Linked DNA regions of Homo sapiens: all the other regions are linked to region 1. Evidence: promoter capture Hi-C in 16 types of primary human blood cells and fetal thymus (Javierre and others, 2016). All regions are on one chromosome and are shown on one strand. Each heading gives the region's core, a stretch centred on a gene start or on the middle of the fragment in contact. The rest is flanking DNA. Distances are from core to core; before and after follow the strand shown. Region 1 holds the start of IGFBP5 (insulin like growth factor binding protein 5). Region 2 overlaps DIRC3 (disrupted in renal carcinoma 3). Region 3 overlaps DIRC3 (disrupted in renal carcinoma 3). Region 4 overlaps DIRC3 (disrupted in renal carcinoma 3). Region 5 holds the start of LOC105373872 (a long non-coding RNA gene).

The links. The method cuts DNA at HindIII sites, captures the fragments that hold promoters and counts their contacts. A CHiCAGO score of 5 or more calls a contact.
Region 2: a fragment that was not itself captured here is called in contact with the fragment with the promoter of IGFBP5 in region 1 in 8 of 17 cell types (fetal thymus, megakaryocytes, M2 macrophages and 5 more); the score reaches 11.0 in fetal thymus.
Region 3: a contact is called between a fragment that was not itself captured here and the fragment with the promoter of IGFBP5 in region 1, in 2 of 17 cell types (M0 macrophages and endothelial precursors). The highest score is 6.2, in M0 macrophages.
Region 4: a fragment that was not itself captured here is called in contact with the fragment with the promoter of IGFBP5 in region 1 in 1 of 17 cell types (M2 macrophages); the score reaches 5.3 in M2 macrophages.
Region 5: a fragment that was not itself captured here is called in contact with the fragment with the promoter of IGFBP5 in region 1 in 2 of 17 cell types (erythroblasts and megakaryocytes); the score reaches 5.7 in erythroblasts.

The regions. Positions count from the first base shown.
Region 1 is chr2:216,694,001-216,697,593 of GRCh38, reverse strand. It overlaps IGFBP5 (insulin like growth factor binding protein 5), which reads left to right and starts at 2,045. Exons shown (of 4, transcript NM_000599.4): 1 at 2,045-3,155. The coding sequence starts at 2,819. IGFBP-AS1 (IGFBP5 antisense RNA 1) reads right to left here and starts at 3,148. Exons shown (of 6, transcript NR_187138.1): 1 at 2,833-3,148. The HindIII fragment of the contact is 8,390 bases long and covers 1,591-3,593 here.
Region 2 is chr2:217,494,346-217,498,129 of GRCh38, reverse strand. All of the region lies in intron 2 of DIRC3 (disrupted in renal carcinoma 3), which reads left to right. Among named protein-coding and RNA genes, the nearest start is that of DIRC3-AS1, 210 kb to the right of the region's middle. The HindIII fragment of the contact is 3,797 bases long and covers 109-3,784 here.
Region 3 is chr2:217,477,325-217,481,243 of GRCh38, reverse strand. It overlaps DIRC3 (disrupted in renal carcinoma 3), which reads left to right. Exons shown (of 13, transcript NR_186301.1): 3 at 2,686-2,863. Among named protein-coding and RNA genes, the nearest start is that of DIRC3-AS1, 200 kb to the right of the region's middle. The HindIII fragment of the contact is 1,643 bases long and covers 1,496-3,138 here.
Region 4 is chr2:217,548,976-217,552,863 of GRCh38, reverse strand. The region is part of intron 2 of DIRC3 (disrupted in renal carcinoma 3); the gene reads left to right. Among named protein-coding and RNA genes, the nearest start is that of DIRC3, 240 kb to the left of the region's middle. RefSeq lists an enhancer at 842-1,410. The HindIII fragment of the contact is 5,153 bases long and covers 62-3,888 here.
Region 5 is chr2:217,219,414-217,223,064 of GRCh38, reverse strand. It overlaps LOC105373872 (a long non-coding RNA gene), which reads left to right and starts at 2,208. Exons shown (of 3, transcript XR_923875.3): 1 at 2,208-2,278; 2 at 2,739-2,840. The HindIII fragment of the contact is 4,190 bases long and covers 1-3,651 here.

The DNA.
Region 1 (3,593 bases), core at 796-3,295:
CCTTTTACCTGTCTTCACATATTGTATTATCCAGCCATTGGAAGTCGGCTACACAAAAAGAGGTGTCACTAGAGGCCATCTCTCTCAGAATACAGGGTGACTGGAACGAGGCAACTCATGTTTCTTTGGAAGGAGTACCACAATTTCCCCCAATCATCTTAAAAGCTACCAGTGTGCCTGAGGCAGGCTGAGCTGCTAAGGGTGTGCAGAAAGAAATAGGAGCAGGGAAGAGAACATACTGCACACATTCTGCTGCCACTCTTGTAGTCTGAACTTGACACAAATGACAAAATAACACATGATTTCCCTCACTTCTAAAATATTTCCACCAAAGTTTTGAATATTGATTTGTTCCTACCTTACCAAGCCCTCAGACTGAGAAAAGAAGAAATTAAGATGAGCCTTGCTGCTATTTTTTGTTTTAATCATTACACACAATGCTCCTCCCTCTCCCAGCCACCACGTGGCTAAACCCCCTTTGGCAATACAGGCAAAGACATAACTTTAGACGTTAACCTTGTTTTAAAATGTGCCTTTCGGCAAATAGATAAGTGAGAAGAGAGATCAGGATCTGGGGGTGTTAACGGCATAAAGTGAGATGCTCCTGAACTGAACGAGCAAGAAAAAATATTTTCTTGAAAGCAGTCCTCCAGAAAGAATTCTTATCATAGATAAGGGTGCAGTCTAGTGGCAAACTTCATGAAATGCAGCCCCTTCTCCAAAGGAAAGTTAGAATACTTCTCAAGGGAGGAAGCACAATGTAAAAGGTGTAACAGCCCACACCAAGTCCACCCAGCAGGGGCAGTGACATTGGTCATTTCTCTCTGACTTGCCTGTGAGGCTCATGGCTCACTCAGGTCAATTTCAGAAAAAGCTAAAACCACCACCTTCCTATTTCAAGGCCTTAGTTTTCTTTCATTTTATTAAAGAGGTTCTAGTGGCATGATTCGGTTCCTGGTCAGGACCTCTTCCAAGCAGGTCCTGTGGCCCTGTCAGCTCATATTCCTGGGATGTGCCTATAAGCACCAACTAACCTGTCAACCTATCACAAGGTCTCCTCCAGCTACTCTGCCACCCACTCCCTCCAGGGATGTGGCCCTGCCCAATAGAAATACCTCTGCAAAGTGACAGAGAGGGAAGTGTCACTCCAATCCACCTTTCTTCCCTCTAAGAACCCCACACACAAGGACACTTTAGGCCACCATGCAAGGTTTTCAGACTTAGCATTTCCTCCAAAGTGTCCATCTCTGCAACTCACTGCTCTCAATAATGCTGTTGTATGAATGTCCATTCCTGCAGATACACAACACACACACATACACACACACACACAGAGAGAGAGAAAGAGAGAGAGAACCTCCCTGGCCAACGCAGCTGAAGGCAACTGGTCACCTCTTCATCATGAGTACTGAAACCCCCTGATTAAATCCTCTTCTCCAGACTTTTAGGGGAGAAATTCAATTTTTTCTTCTTTTTTAAATTTAGCTCACCAGACATCACTGGCCATTCTACACTACCTGTCCCCCAAACACACACACACACACACCCCACATGGAAACAGACACCAGCATACAGTCAATTGCAGAAGCTTAGGAAGATTTCTTGGGCACGGTATATCCAGTTGGCTAATAAGAAAATACGTCTCCCTTCAGCCTGTGCCTTGACTACTTAAAGGATAGGAGGGAAGGGGAGACGAAGTTACTCTCCTCATTGTGTTCACCCTGCTCCGAAGAACTCTGTCTTCCACTGGCCCCTCCACCTCCTCCCCATTCTCGGTAGCCCCAGCCTGTCCCCCTTGCCCCTTTCTTACATTCCGGGGGGAGGAGGGCGCTGTTCAGAGGGGAGGAGGGCGCTGTTCAGGGAGCGAAGGGGAGCCCCCTTGTGTCTAGAAGGCCTCTCCCCACCCCCACCCCGTGTGAGTTTGTACTGCAAAGCTCCTTGGCATCCTTGCCTGAGTTGGGTGTTGGGAAGCTCAAATTGCAGCTACAAACTGGCTGGCAGCCAGGGGCCGGCTATTTAAAAGCGCCTGCTCTCCCGGAGCCCCGTAGTCTCTTTGGAAACTTCTGCAGGGGAAAAGAGCTAGGAAAGAGCTGCAAAGCAGTGTGGGCTTTTTCCCTTTTTTGCTCCTTTTCATTACCCCTCCTCCGTTTTCACCCTTCTCCGGACTTCGCGTAGAACCTGCGAATTTCGAAGAGGAGGTGGCAAAGTGGGAGAAAAGAGGTGTTAGGGTTTGGGGTTTTTTTGTTTTTGTTTTTGTTTTTTAATTTCTTGATTTCAACATTTTCTCCCACCCTCTCGGCTGCAGCCAACGCCTCTTACCTGTTCTGCGGCGCCGCGCACCGCTGGCAGCTGAGGGTTAGAAAGCGGGGTGTATTTTAGATTTTAAGCAAAAATTTTAAAGATAAATCCATTTTTCTCTCCCACCCCCAACGCCATCTCCACTGCATCCGATCTCATTATTTCGGTGGTTGCTTGGGGGTGAACAATTTTGTGGCTTTTTTTCCCCTATAATTCTGACCCGCTCAGGCTTGAGGGTTTCTCCGGCCTCCGCTCACTGCGTGCACCTGGCGCTGCCCTGCTTCCCCCAACCTGTTGCAAGGCTTTAATTCTTGCAACTGGGACCTGCTCGCAGGCACCCCAGCCCTCCACCTCTCTCTACATTTTTGCAAGTGTCTGGGGGAGGGCACCTGCTCTACCTGCCAGAAATTTTAAAACAAAAACAAAAACAAAAAAATCTCCGGGGGCCCTCTTGGCCCCTTTATCCCTGCACTCTCGCTCTCCTGCCCCACCCCGAGGTAAAGGGGGCGACTAAGAGAAGATGGTGTTGCTCACCGCGGTCCTCCTGCTGCTGGCCGCCTATGCGGGGCCGGCCCAGAGCCTGGGCTCCTTCGTGCACTGCGAGCCCTGCGACGAGAAAGCCCTCTCCATGTGCCCCCCCAGCCCCCTGGGCTGCGAGCTGGTCAAGGAGCCGGGCTGCGGCTGCTGCATGACCTGCGCCCTGGCCGAGGGGCAGTCGTGCGGCGTCTACACCGAGCGCTGCGCCCAGGGGCTGCGCTGCCTCCCCCGGCAGGACGAGGAGAAGCCGCTGCACGCCCTGCTGCACGGCCGCGGGGTTTGCCTCAACGAAAAGAGCTACCGCGAGCAAGTCAAGATCGGTGAGCGCGCTCAGTGTGCCAGTCAGTTACGCGGCGCACGGGCGGGGGACACGAGACCGGCTGGGCCCGCGCGCTTTGCGCAGCAAGTGGCTTCGAGCTGGGGTGCAGCTCGGGAGTAGTCGGGGAGGGTCCTTGCACCCCGGAATTGGAGCCCTGGAGGATCCTGCTACCCGGGGGAACTGTCTAGCCGAGTCTATCCCAGCTTTCGCTCTTTCTCCTTCCTCCTACCCACACGTTGCCCGCCCCCTCCCCCTACTCTGTCCGAATACTGATTCTGAGCTCTTATTCGGTCACAAGGTCCAAATCCCCTGGTACCCTATCTACAGTCTGAAAGAGTGTATGTTACATTATCAACTCCCTCCTCCACCCCCCTCGCGCCCCGCATAGGTTTTTTTCTGAACTTGGAAAAAAAATCTCTTTTGTTAAAATATTATTTTA
Region 2 (3,784 bases), core at 758-3,257, 800 kb before region 1:
CTTCTCCTCTCCTCTGGCTTCCCACCCTCATTTGGCATCCCACTTCCTGGAGTGTCAACGATTCTTGCCCACTTGAATTTGCTGTCTCAGCATACCATGTTCTAAGCTTTTTTCCCTTTCCTTCTAGCCATTAAAATCTCTCTATCTTATTCCCCTATCATATCAGATAACTAGGCTAGGTGCTAACATATACCAAGATGATAATCACTGAAAGAGATTGCTGTTATTTCTTCTAGGTCACATATTTGACTTTTAATAGTAACTTTCAATCTTTAACTTGAAGGTGTAACCAATGAAAATTCCAGGAAAAACAGCAAGGTTTGTGGGCTAGATACTTTATAGCTATCATTTGTGACCTTTCAACTCTGTAACAGATACTTTAAATTCATAGTCCATTCAATCTTCATGACAACCCTATGAAGAAGGTATTATTTTCCCTGTTTTTATAGATCATAAGCCTTGTTGCTCATGAGAAATAAAAATAAAATCCTAAGTCCTTCAAAAAACTGAATAGACTCCCTCTTGGCCAAGGGGACCCCAGATAAACCTTAAAAACTGAGCTCCTAGCCATGACAAGATGGGAGGTCAGACACATCCCAGTATGCCCCTTCGTTATTAACCTTTAACCAGAATTCTTTCCTAGAGTAAGCAGAAATCAGCTCTAGAAAACAAGAAAGGGATGACTCCTTCCTTTATTACCTTTAGCCAATTATCTGAGGCCGTGACAGGACTCTCTCCCTCTCTTTGCAGTTTTGACATGATAACTCACCAGTTTTACAATGTATTCCTTCCTAATAAGAGACCACCAACCATGGAGTGGTTCTGGCATCAACAGAGGGTGCACAGTGAGGGTTTACATGTTCTGTGCTTTACCTTTTGATATTAGAAAGTCAAAAACTGCACCTTTGGATCATTCTAATGCCATCTTTTTTTTTTTAAAATTTTACTTTAAGTTCTGGGATACATAATGCAGAACATGTAGGTTTATTACATAGGTATACATGTGCCATGGTGGTTTGCTGTATCTATCGACCCATCATCTAGGTTTTAATCTCAGCATGCATTAGGTATTTGTCCTAATGCTCTCCCTCCCCTTGCCCCTCACCCCCCAACAGGCCCCGGTGTGTGATGTTCCCCTCCCTGTGTCCATATGTTCTCATTGTTCAACTCCCACTTATGAGTGAGAATATTCAGTGTTTGGTTTTATGTTCCTGTGTTAGTTTTCTAAGAATGATGGCTTCCAGCTTCATCCATGTCCCTGCAAAAGACATGAAATCATTCTTTTTTATAGCTGCATAGTATTGCATGGTGTACATGTGACACGTTTTCTTTATCAAGTCTATCATTGATGGGCATTTGGGTTAGTTCCAAGTCCTTACTATTTTAAATAGTAATGCCATCATTTTTTGAACATGCCACCCATGAAGAGGCATGGAGCTCAATTGTGCCTGTGCATATTACTCCTTTCATAAATATTCATGATTTCTCCTATAGTTTATTGAATATGTATGCTTAGCCAAGCTGTTCAGCATAAATTCCTGTCTTATGCCTACCCCGACCACCACCAAAGTGCCATTTTCCAGCTTCTGGCTGGAGGCTACACTTCCCAGCCTGTCAGAATGGCTACCTTGCAGGCTACAACCGTTTATGAGAAATAAAGATCTCCTTTCCAAAATTATGACTTCATCATTCTTCAGCTGACACTTATAAGGATGAGGGGATAGAGGCAGGAAAAGGCAGAGCTGTGATTTGAACCTGGGTAGACCTGATTTCAAAGCCTTAAGTACCCTTCCTACCACAGCTCCCTAGCTGGAGGCAATTCAGGATGAACAGCTCATGTTAGTGATAATGTGGTAGGAATTCATGTTTTTAACTTCACTGTATCCCATTTTATTTCTAGTCAGATATGTAATCTCTTCCAAGTCAAGAATTTCTTTCTTTAATTTTTTTTTCTCTTTCTGGATTTCAAATGATCATTTCCCCTCATTTTTGGGCTGAACTGACAAGAGAAACTTCAGGTCTTTCTCTTTAGATGGCCTAAATTGCTCAGAAACGAGAGAGAAACAATAAAAACCACTGTTCTGCTGGAAATTGTACTTTCAAAAGTCTTAAAATGATGGAAGGTTTCATAGCCACATGTCCCAGAGCTGGGTTCTGGATGAAATGAAGGGGCATAAATATCACCATGGTCTCAATGGAAAGGTGGGAAAAGACTTTTATACCCATATTTTCCCCTTCATATGTTGTTGTGGGACTCAGGAAGAAAGACACAATGTGCCTTGAAAGGGAGGCATGTGAGCTCCGGGAATGATGTGTATGAGCACTCAGATCTTAAGGAAACACCACATTGAGAATGTAGTGGGCATGGGTCAGGAAATTCTGAGCTCTGGCTTCTGCTGCAGGAAGAACAGCTAGCTCCTGATTACTTGTGAACAGGTCAGACCACCTGGCTTCTTCTCCTACCACGTATCCAGTTCAGCAAGAAAACAGCGGCAGGTGGCCTAGAAATAAATTGTTTTCTGCCTCTTTGTCCCACATGTTGGTGAAACAGGCCCAAGCAGAGAGGGATTAAATGTTTGAATTTAATTCTATGGTTCTTAGAAATAAAAAGCCAAATTTGGATAATAATTGCTTGCATATTAGTTATGACTTTTCTTTCATCTTCCTCTGACTGATGTAGGTGATTAAGTTGGCCAAACACAATCTCAATTTCCACATTAGGTTTGAAGTAGTCTAAAGACACACATCTGGGTGGGTATAGAGATTATGTGAACTTCAGTCATATTCTGCAAATGTTCCCATAATCCATGTTGTCAGTGTATAGGTTATAATGATCTTTTTGCATTTATAGGACCTTTTATATTTCTTTATTTATTTATTTATTGCAAATTTATTTTCAGCTGAAAATTTTATTCATTTATTTAGAGATGGGGGGGTCTTACTATGTTGCCCAGGCTAGTCTCAAACTCCTAGACTCAAGTGATCTGCCCACCTCAGCCTCCCAAAGTGCTGAGATTACAGGCATGAGCCACCACATTCAGCCCATTTACAGGATCTTATTTCCTTTTTTTTTTTTTTAATATTTTCATCCTAATCCATTATCCTTTATGAGTGAACAGTATCTCCTGTATAATTAGACTGTGCAGAGGGAAGAAGAGTTACTCAAAGGTTCAGGTAAGTGAGTTGCCTAACACCGGTGAGGACATTGAGACCCAGTGAGAGAGACCCGCACAGTGCTCAGCCCGTTTTGGAGTTGAATATCAGTCCATATTGTTTGACTTTCACAAAAACAGTGGTTACTAGACCTCAGGTTATTGGCAAGAAGTAAATACAAGGCGTGACAATGCATCTGAACAAAGTTAGAATTTGTTGGCTGTGGTGAAATCTGAGGGCAAAATCAAGCTCCCATCTTGTTCCCCTGACTAAAGCCACTGAAAATAGTTCCTCATTGTGGTTTCTGAGATCCAAAGAAAAGACAGCTCCAAGTGGTTTATTACACAAGGTTCAGAAGGCTTATGGGCATCCAATGGTTCCCACCAAGTTGGATTTTGATGGGTTAAATGTGGGCAAATCAGAAACATAAGAATTAAATTTCCTTTCCAATACACATGGGTTTTAAGTGAAGGGAAAAAGGTGCTTCGGGCACAATGCATTTATTTGCCAAGCCCCAAACATTCAAAAAATGGTTCAATATGTCCCAGTACATCCAGCCAGCTGCCCAGTCTCCCCTCTTTCTGGAAGTGATTGTCTACATATGCACACTGATAGGTGCACAGAAAGTGAT
Region 3 (3,919 bases), core at 1,068-3,567, 780 kb before region 1:
ATCCTAGGCCCTCTCATTTTCTGAGGTCTAACAGTTCATTTTTTTTTTCTGTGATTCACAGAACTATCCCATAGCTTTAAAATAGATTCTACCTTATATCTAAGCTAGTCAGAGTCACTTCTGTTGCTTACAACCTAAGAAACCTAAAAGATATATCAAGCATCTTCCTTGTGATCTCACCAGCTGAGAGTTGATGGTGAGAAGACAGACTGAGAATCTATAAAATATTATTAGTAAGTGAGTTTGGTGAAGTTACTAGATACAAATTCAATCTATAAAAATCAATTAAATTTGGGGGCAGCAATAGAGTCCTGAAACAGAATCTCAGAGCTGATGATTTGTTGCTGGTATATATAAATCAATATTTCTATATACATATGTAAATAAATATATTTAACAAATAATTTAAAAATAAAATTTAAAAAGCATACCATTTACAGTAATATCAAAAACATATAGTTGGGATAAATCTACCAATGAATCTATATATGTACAAATCTCTACACAGATATCCATAAAACACTGTTGAGATAAAACCAAAAAGACCTAAATAAGTAGATTCTTGTTGTCAGCCATCAAATTTTGGGGCAGCAATAGATTTCTGAAATAGAATCTCAGAGCTGATGGTGGTGCAGTACAAGTCCATCTTTACGTAGATAAGGAGAATGAGGCTAGAAGGAAAAAACATCCTCTTCAAGTTAGCCCAGACAGACAAAAATAGCCCTGTATTAGCACCAGCTTACTGCAGTTTGCTGCCAATCTGGACATCTGTATGCTGGGGCTAGACCCACAATCCTTATCTCTCAGGGCCATTGCTTATACACTCCTGGCCTCTAGTTTGCTCTGCCACTTTTTAAGGACATCCTAGCAATGGAAGTTCTGTCTTGTTTCTTTCCATCTTTCCTGAATATTCTGGTACCCATGGAAAACCAACGGGATGGACTCACTATCTATAAGATTCTCTGGCTGGATTAGGCATCTAAATTCATGTTGATTTCTAGGGTTAGTAACCTGCCATACCTCTGACTGTTTGAAAGTGGCAAGTCCTTGCTTGAAGACTCACTCATTACCTTTAGCTCAAGGGACCACATTCAAACAAGAGACATCTTATCATTACGATTTCCCATTGTCTGGTCACAGACAATGTATAAATGTCACTTCTTCTATTCCTTCTGGAATAACTAGTCTTTAGTAACCAAACTCAGACTAAGAACTGCAGCATTTTTCCCCACTTCCAGCCTAGATTTTCCCTCTGCTGTTTTTTCCTCTTTTCCATGGGTTATTTTTTCCAACTTAGGAGACAAGGAGAATGTGTATCCCAGGTAAAGTGAGGAGGAAAAGGGGAGGAGCTATGGCACAGACACATCAAAAGAGCCCTTTGTGCTCAGGGCACATTATTCCTGGAATCCGATCAAGTGCCCAAAACCCAACCAAGCTTTTCAGACAGCACAGAAACCAGTCATGCAGGCCTCTTGGGCTCCGCTTTTTTAAAGCTTTATAGGGTACACTGAATTATTTGGTTGGGTCTTTTCAACCGTGTGACATTTTGGTTTTCTATGGCACAAATGGAGTTGATCATTAATTATTTGGACGCTTTAATTAAAAAAAAAACCTCACTGTGGATTTATGAGGGTCTGCTGGGGGGCAAGGACAAGGAGCCCTTTAGTGATTCTCTCATTTGAATGAGAGTGAGGGTTGTGGAGGTCTAGAAAGGGAGGGTATAGAATCATCTTCCAAGAAGGTCTTAAACCCAAGTTAGGGTTTATTTGACGGAGGAGGGGCTTACAATGAAGAAAATGGAAGGGAACACAAGAAAGCAGAATTCTGAGACCTGCCAAATGCACTAGGCGGGAGGGCGTTTAATAAACGCACTAGGGGGAAGGGCATTAGCAGGGAGCCCTCAGCCATCAAGAGCTTCTGAATCAATACCTTTCACATCAGAACTAGTAAGTCCTCTGGGTTGAGGTGGGGGAAGGGCTGGTTTCTGGAACATACGATTCACTGAACCACAGAGAGACTCCAGGAGGGGAGTTTGTGAGTGGAATGTTGAATGCCCAGAAGGACAAATGAATGTCTTCCTGTTTCAGAGCAGCGAGGTAGCGAAGGTGTAACATCCGCTTCCTTTCTGGGGCATGTTTTGCAGCCTCAGCCTTCTTCTGTAACATGGATGTGTGTCCCTCCTGGGTCACACACACGCTCCACTTCCTGATATCCTGAAAAAGCTGTCACACTCCCAGAGAGTTGCGCTCCTGGGTGCCTCTCCACAAAGGTTAATCTCAATGACAAGTGATCCTGGGTGGGGTTGGGAAGTCTGGGAAAGGAAGTAAGCTCTTCTCCAGAGACAGCAGGAATTCCCATCTATTCAGCCCCTTGAATCCAGGAGCCTGAGAGAAAAGACTCAGCACATTTAAAAAATACTGATGAAAACTGCTTATCCTTAAAATCAAAATGCATAGTAATGCCATATGCCAAAAAGAAACATACTGATTTGTGTGGATATATTTGCTGATTTCCCCACTTAGATTTTTAAAAACCCTTACCTTGGAGTGATTCAATATGGAAAAAAAATGCCAAAAAACTTGAATGTTACTGATGTCTTTCCTTCTAAAGTGCACAAAATTATTTTAAGAATTGTTCTTATGGTGCCAGCTGACTAGACCATATTATTTATCTTATTTTGCAAAGGAGAGAAACTGAGTCCGAGGGATGTCAACATGCCAAGTCCATGGAAATATCAGTGGGCTGGAATTCTAGCTGCCTGAAAGAAGACATTCCTCACACAAGACCTCACAATCATATCCATGGAATTATAGCACTGGGCTCTCCAGATGGTGCTACAGGAAGACCTCCAGAAATTTGACAAGTAAGTTATTTGTTCTTCCTTACAGTCACTTCTCTGCAAAGGTTGGCTTTATGCATCTAATTTAGAGATGAGAAAAATAAAATTTACCCAAATTTTTGTAGCAAGTCCATTCGGGGTGTTTTTGGTAGTGTTTGCTTTGTCTAAAGTTAAGGGCTGGAGAGGTCATAATGAATTGAAGATAAATCTGGCTTCAGTTATTTGATGATAAAATAATGGAATTAAACATTAGAAAGCATAATTGATGGACTTACTTGACGTGAGAGCAAAAGCAAGCTTTCATGTCTCTTCCCAGCCTCCGTAGATCAAGATGGGAGGAATGTAGCTGGGAGAAGGGGTTCTGAAGCCTGGGGGAAAGAAATGGCTCAGACTCAACCCCACAGGTGGAGAGGGTAATGGGCCATAGCTCAGGAATTTTTAGGTTCCCCAGGGTATGCTGTCCACCTCCACCTGTTAGGGAAGGCATGGGGACATCAGCAATGGGTTTTGGCAGGTAAAAATACAATGACATGGCCTGGAGAATGTGTTCCTTTATCTCAGTTTTGCCCACAGAGAGAAGCAAGGGCTTCACTTTGGCCTGGGATCTACAGGGTGCATTGCTGCCTCCCATTGACAGGAGTTGAGCACTGCCCAGGCCCAAGGCACCCACCAGTTTTCATTCTAAAGTATAGGATAACAGCTAGTCACACACTTATATTTGCACCTAAATTCAAGATACTACCTTATGACAAAGTTTAATCATCTTGCTTATAACTCAGGGCTTAGAGGATATAACAAATTTCAGAGTGTTTAGTGATGAAAGAGAAGATATACTACATAAGAGGCATTTGTTTGGGACCAAACCCTGAAGCAGAGCCACTGTGTCTGAAGTCCCTTTACCTGGAGCCCTCTTTCCCCTCATCTTTACCTGACAGATTCATGTTCTTCATTTCCTTCTCAGTTCAGGGTCAGACTTCCCCAGAGATGCTTTTCTGTACCCCTTGGGCTAAATTAGGTCTTTGTGTAAGGTCTATTAAAGTGCCCTCTGTTTTTTCTTCACAGTACTCATCACATGAAAAA
Region 4 (3,888 bases), core at 1,389-3,888, 850 kb before region 1:
TGGGTTAGGGCTTGGGATGCCTGGGTCTGCCCCAGGCCCTCTCCTTTGCCCCGGGAAAGCTTCTTCTAATGTGTGGGCCTGGATGATCTCTCCTCTCCCCTCCAGCTCTGCTATTCCCTCTCTCTAACTTCTAGACCCTAACTGACACAGCATTCCTCTGTAAGCTACTTCATCTGCAAATAAGAGGTTTGGTGGAATTTGATCTATTGTCCTGAACAAAATTGCAAAGTGAGATCAGGCATTTTAGAAAAGATTTATAAATAGAGAACCCCAGTTAGGCATCCTAGAGAACCTTGGGCAAAGTTTTAGAATTATTACTTGCAGGTAGAATTTTGTGGGTGATAGGCTATTTTCTTTTAGTTTGACATAATCCCTGTGCTCTAGGGAATTTACAGTGTAATAAAGATGGTAAAATGCGACTTCCTTAATGGCTTTCCATTCTCCCCAAACCTTTAACACAGTCTGCAGAGCCTTGTTATCTGTCTTCTGTCCTGCTTCCCTCTCTCCGCTGCATGCTTCTCATTCCTCAAGAAGTGCTCTTCTCTCCTTTCCCTGAGCCTGAAATTCCCACCTCTGATTACCCTGAAGAACTCTTATTCATCCCTCAGGTGTCATCTCTGATGTCCTTTTCTCCAGAAAGTCTTCCCCAATCCTCCAGACCACACACGTTGTTCTGTTCCAGGCTCTTGTTTCCAACTATACATTTAGCTCTCACCACTATTATCACCAGATCACTTACCATGTAACCAGTTATTTAATGTCCATCTCCCCTTCGTGAACTTCACCTCCAAGAGGGTAGTGCTTGTCTTAGTCATCCTGGTAACCCCAGTATACAACAAAGTACTCTGCCATTGCAGGTACCTAATGGATATTTATTATATGAATGAATGAATATGAAAGGTTGAGTTTCACTGCAAGAGCCAGGTTATCACGTTAGACCTCAATACCAGGCACCACGCAATACCTGGTGCATTGTGTGACCACTGGAATAGAGGATGAATGCTGAAGGTTCAGAGATGTGGCGGCCACTGTAAATCAGCAAGGCTTCCTGGCTGTAGATCATAAGCCTGTGTGGGCCCCTTCATTCCTCTCACATTCCGAAACATCAGGGTTTAAATCTACAGACAGCTCTGCCCAGATTCCTAGGATGTTTTTATGGGCTAGAATACCAACATGAGTCAGCACTGCCCTTGTCATGCTAAGTTTATCAAATGGCAGATGCTGTGGTATATTGGCCAGAATTTGCTGACCTCTTATCATGGCTAGGTCATAGTACATGTTCCAATAGCTATTTTATAGTATATTCTCAGGGCCATACTTCCAGGATGGTGTTAATCCTCTTACTAACTTACAGCAGACAGCTAGCAGTTGACATGCCATATGAGCAACGTCATCCTTCTGGAATAATCTATAATGCTCAGGGGATCACCCCCTTCAGTACTTTCCATCTCACTGCAGATACTTCACATTAGGGCAGGTACTGGGTGGTGAGCTATGAGCATTGCTGCCTATAGTGAGTAGGACAGGACCAATAGGGGTCAGGGAAATATCAGTGGAAGAGCAGATATGACCCCTGTCTGCAGTAAAGACCATCCAAAAATGGGAGGCAGAACATCTGAGAAATTCTAAAAGATCTCTCTGTTATCATCATATGCTTAATGTGTGTGTTAGTGCTATTTCACCATAAACTATGCATAATAAATCTTTGTGTTGCTAACTACTTCTGAGCCTTATGAAAACGGGCATAGTGACTGTTCTATATATTCTTTTCTTCCTCTTAAAATCGAGGTATAATTGACATACAACAAATCACACATTTAAAGTTACACATTGGTAAATTTCACATGTGTATTTATTCACGAAACCATCACCACAATCAAGATAATTAACACATCCTTTACCCTCACGTTTTCTCATTTGCCCTTGTAGCCCCAGCCCCCTGCTCCCAAGGCCACCCCGTTCTCAGGCAGCCATGAGCTGCTTTCTGTCACTGTAGATAAATTTGCATTTCCTAGAATTTTGTATAAATGGAATCTTTTTTTTTTTTTTTTTTTTGAGATGGAGTCTCACTCTGTTGCCCAGGCTGGAGTGCAGTGGCGTGATCTCGGCTCACTGCAACCTCCACTTCCCGGGTTCAAGCGATTCTCCTGCCTCCGCGTCCCGAATAGCTGGGACTACAGGCACGCACCACCATGCCCGGCTAATTTATTTATTTTTTTTTTTTTTGAGACGGAGTCTCTCTCTGTCACCCAGGCTGGAGTGCAGTGGCGTGATCTCTGCTCACTGCAAGCTCCTCCTCCCGGATTCACACCATTCGCCTCCTCAGCCTCCTGAGTAGCTGGGACTACAGGCGCCTGCCGCCACGCCCGGCTAATTTTTGTATTTTTTAGTAGAGACAGGGTTTCACCACGTTGACCAGGCTGGTCTTGAACTCCCGACCTCAGGTGATCCACCCATCTCAGCTTCCCAAAGTGTTGAGATTACAGGTGTGAGCCACTACTGCCAGTCGATAAATGGAATCTTATAGTATGTGCTCTGTTATCTGGCTTCTTCTACTTAGCATTTTTTTTAGATTCATTCATAGTACTGTGTATATCAATAACTGATTCCTTTCTGTGGTTAAGCAGTAGTCCATTGTATGGTAAAACATGATTTGTTTATTTATTCATCTGCAGATGGACATTTAGATTGTTTCCAGTTTTTGACTACTACAAATAAAGCAGCTATGAACATCTGAGTACAAATACATGGATATATGCTTTAATTTATCTTTGGTAAATATCTAAAAGTGGAATGGCTGGATCACATGTTTAGTTTCTTAAGAAACTGCCAATCTGCTTTCCAAAGCGATTGTGCCATTTTACATTCCCACTAGCAGTGTGTGAGAATTCCGGTTGCTCTACATCCGTGACAACACGTTGTATGGACTGCCTTTAATTTTAAACATTCCAATGGATGTGTAGTAGTGTCTCATTGTGGTTATAATTTGCCTTCCCTAATGACTATTGATGTTGAACATCTTATCATGTACCTATTTGCCATCAGTATAGCTTCTTTGATGAAGTGTGTCTCGTATCTTTTGTCATTTTAAATTTTTATTTGCCTTTTTTATTATGGGTTTCGAGAGTTCTAAATATAGACTATATAAAGTTATTTTATCAGATATGTGATTTGAAAATATTTCCTCCCAGACTATGGCTTGCCTTTGTCATTACCTTAACAGTGTCTTTTAAAGTGTGGCAGTTTTTAATTTTGCTGAAGTCTATTGTTTTCTTTTATGGATGATTGTTTTGGTGTTGTACCTAAGAAACCTTTGTGTAACTCACAAAGATTTTACCATTTATTTTCTTCTGAAAGTCTTATCATTTTACTTTACGTCCGTGAACCACTTTCAGTTAATTTTTGTACATGGCATGAGGTATAAATGAAAGCTCCTTTTTTTTGCATGTGGATATCCATTTGTTTCAGCAGCATTTATTGAAAGATTGTATTTTCCCTTCCAAATTGCCTTTGTACCTTGGCAAAAATCACTTGTACGTATAGGTGTGGGTCTATTTCTAGAATCTCTCTTAATGTTTCATTGATCTATGTGTCTTATCTTTATGCCAACACCATAGCGTGTTGATTATTGTAACTTCATGAGTTTTGAAGTCAGGTAGTGTTAGACCTCCAACTTTTTGTTTTTATATTTTTCTAAAATAGCCAAAACATTTTTTTTGCATTTCCATTTGAAGTTTAGAATAATCTTGCCAATTTCTACAAAAAAGCCTGCTGGGATTTTTGATTGGGAGTGCATTGAATCTATAAGCTAATTTTGGGGAGAATTGAAATCTGTTTTAATCAGGGTTCTCCAGAGAACGGAACCAATAGGATGTCTGTGTGTGTGTG
Region 5 (3,651 bases), core at 780-3,279, 530 kb before region 1:
AGCATAGAATGAGGTTATGTAACCTTGAACAGTAATAGAAATGATCAAAATACAAAGGCATGGTAATTTATAGGGAGCTGAGTGTAAAACATAAAAAACAGCATTCTCAAGTCGTTTTTTCAGAAGTCCATAGGTGTTGCTTATAAAATAGAGACTACAAAGCCTTGAAGAAAACAGGTTCACAGGAGCAAGATATGGTTCAAGCTGAGAGTCCTCTGCCAAATCAGGGGGGTTGGTAAAATCTAGGGAGAGAACGATTCTAATTTCAAGAAGAAAAGCACTAGACAGAAAAAAGGAACTGAGAAACTGAGAAGCAGAAGTATTACGTTGATGCAAAAGTAACTGCGGTTTTTGCGGTTACTTTTAGTGACAAAAATCGCAATTACTTTTGCACCAACCTAATACATATAGTAGGCCCAAGGCAGTGGATCTGGTGTACAGATATTAGAGATGGATTGAAGGGAGAAAGGGGCAGAAAAAGAGACAACCAAATAGCTTAGACACATACTCCTAAGGCCAGAGCCTGGGCACCAGTAGCAGGGCTGAGTGATGTGGCCATGATCTTCAACTCAAAGAATGTTCAAAGTAGGAGGGACCCCAGAACTCATCTAATTCAAACCACTTATTATCAGTGGGATAAAATGAGGCACAAAAAGGGACATGACTTATCCAAAACTATGGAATTTGTAACAGAAGATAATATTTTAATTTATGCCTTTTCTGCTGTATCACAAAGTCAATTTATAGGTCAGATGGGAATACCTAGGATCTATACTAGAATATGTCTTTCTCCCCTAGAAAGAGAAAGTAGAAAGACGATCAGCTCCACTTGGAAATAGCAATTATGGTAAAAGAACTAGCTCAAAATCCCACACCCAAATTAACATCTGGTTCTCCAGCACTCACGAAGTTTAAGGCATGTGCTGGGTACAAGGAAAAAGCTCTAGGCTCCAAGATTGTTTTCCTGCTAGACTGGCCCCTAAGGGTCAGGGACCAAATCTGATTTACCTTTCCATCTCTAACACCTGGATAATAGTCGTCTTTGACTATTTATTTTCAATAAGTAATTATTTTATTCCTAGGGTCCCTTGCATTTCTATTCTCCTAATATTACATATAAATTCGCTGAGATAAGAGAAGTAAAGAGAGAAGTCAGTGATCACAGAGTGAATGAATTAAGAGCAGAATTCAAGTCTACCTTTCTTGGGCTCTTTCTCCTCACCATTGCTGTTGCTATTCCCTCCAAAGGATTAGGACAAAGGAAAGAGATGAAGCAAAAATGGATACAAAATTGAGTAATAATACAACAATTAAATAATCCGAAAATCAAAGTCTAGGAGAAAGATCTATGAACTGGAATATGAATATGTAGTAAGAGCTTCTTTAGAGTCTAAGGCTGGACTGTTCATAGGCACATTGGCATTTGCAGCATCTAAAACAAGGCTTGGCATATACCTCCCATTGCTACTAAAATAATAGATAGTATATCCTGTAGTTAGACTGTTCAGCAGCATATATCAAGTGCCAGCTTAGTGCTTCAAACTTGAGTTACATTGACAGAAGCCTTCAAAACAATATTGTGTGAGATAAACACAATGGTTGCAGTCTATGGTCTGAAATTCTTTTACTGTGGGAAGGCCAGTTTTAAAGATGATTTGAAGGTCAAATGAGGTCACCTTTAACATAATGTAGCATTTACTGGACTGCAGTGGTCAAGGGAAAACAAAGAGGTTTTTGGAGAACTTAGACATTGGAGAATAGTCATGCTCTTGGATGGCATTATCCAAAGACGGTGGCAGTTGAGTGGAATCCAATAACCACGCTACGAAAGAACATAATCTGAGCTATGGGTGAAGTAGGGGAGTGAGGGCCACAGACCAGAGGCCTTTCGGAGTTTCTCAAATCTTTAAATATCTTTCAAGAAGGGGGACCCTATAGCTCTTTCAGTACCATCATATCAGCTTATTTATGATACCAGAACTATAACTGTATTCTAAGTCACCAGAATTGACAGCAATTTATATGGGTTTGATTTTTTTTTAGTGACTAGAGAAAAAAATAAGTATCAGTTACTTTCTTGACCTACCAGGCCAGCCTTTGCAGAAAGAGGGATAAAGCATCCTTGATGAGGAACAAATAAAATTATACTGTGAAGAAATTTCCAACTGGTCAGATCAGGATGTAATTCTCTTGTTTGTGTTTTTCTTAGAAAGCATTTCCATTTTGCCTGGCTCTGGGAACAAAGCCAATGTCTGCTTTAGAGGAACAGAGATTTCCAGTAAGTTGGGCTGGCAATAGTGGCTGGGTGGGTGGGATCACAGGGAGGGTTTATGGGGGGACAGTTCCGAAACCCATGTACAAGCCTAGAAAGGGCGAGATGGTTGGTTTGCCTCATATTCTCAGATCAACAAGGCCTCTGAGACATTTTTATGGGCCAGGGAGGGATGAGACTGAGTCAGAAGACAGAGCCTAGACACCTCCAATACCCTTGCCTCAAATAATTAACAAATCACAAAAGCAGGGTGGGAAAGGAGGGAGGAAAGGAAGCAGAAGTGAAGAGAGACACTGTTCTCCCACTCTCTGCTGGTTAGACCTAACAAGGTTATGCTTCATGCTGGGTTTCACAATAGCATCAACCTCAGCCTCAGAAGCATGTCTTAGAACCAGTCCCCGGAGATCAAGAACCACGTTCTTCTCTTCCTTCTCTCCAAATCACTTCCTTTTATCTATTTTTCCAGCACAGCGAATGAGAAAAAGGACACAGACCCAGGATTCAGAAAGGAAATGAGGACAGAGACTAACACTGTCTAAATACATAAAGGCAGAAGACATTTTCTCAGGTGAGTTATATACCTGCCTTATTCATATGATCTTCACAAGTCAGTCAGAAAACTTCGGTTTCAGTCCTGGTTTTACACTAAAGGGTTGAACGACTGTGAACAAGTCCCATAAGTTCTGCTCTCCTCACTGAGGAGTGCAGAGTGTGTATAAAATGGGAACAATGCTATTTTCCCAGCTACCCTAGAACATTGTTTCAAGAATCAAATGGGATAATACTCAAAGAAGTATTTGGTGAGCTGTGAAATGCTGAACATATGCAAGGAATTATTATTTAGCCAATAAACATCTCTCCAAGACACCAGTCTCTGAGATTGCCCCACTTGAGAGATAGCTCTCTTCTCTATTTACCTCAAACACGTATTCTGACTCCAATCCAAAGTCACTTGGAAATTGGCCTCAAAGATCTAACCATAGCCTTGGCACCAGACAGAAAATCAGATCTCACTTCCTGCCCCTGCTTTTATTTGCAATGTAGCTTCCAAAGCAAGAAACAAAATCTCAAGCTCCATTAATAATGAAACAAGGAGGCTCAAAAGCCTCACATCCTAACATTGGGCTCAATGAAGAAGGAGGAAGCATCAGTGATGATGAGGAAAGGTACAAGTGCAGGGTGAAGGTGGGAGTTGGCCTTAAGAGAGAGCTTATTGTCCTGATTGCGACAGGAAGGTCTTAAAGAATGGTGTCTTCTGGGAGGCATCATTTTCCACAGATGGTCAGGAATGCCAAATCAGTCCTAGACAAAATTAGAGCCTCTAGAGAAGGAAATTAGGAGAGACTGTGGGAAACTGGCATGAAGAAATTTTAAAAGGA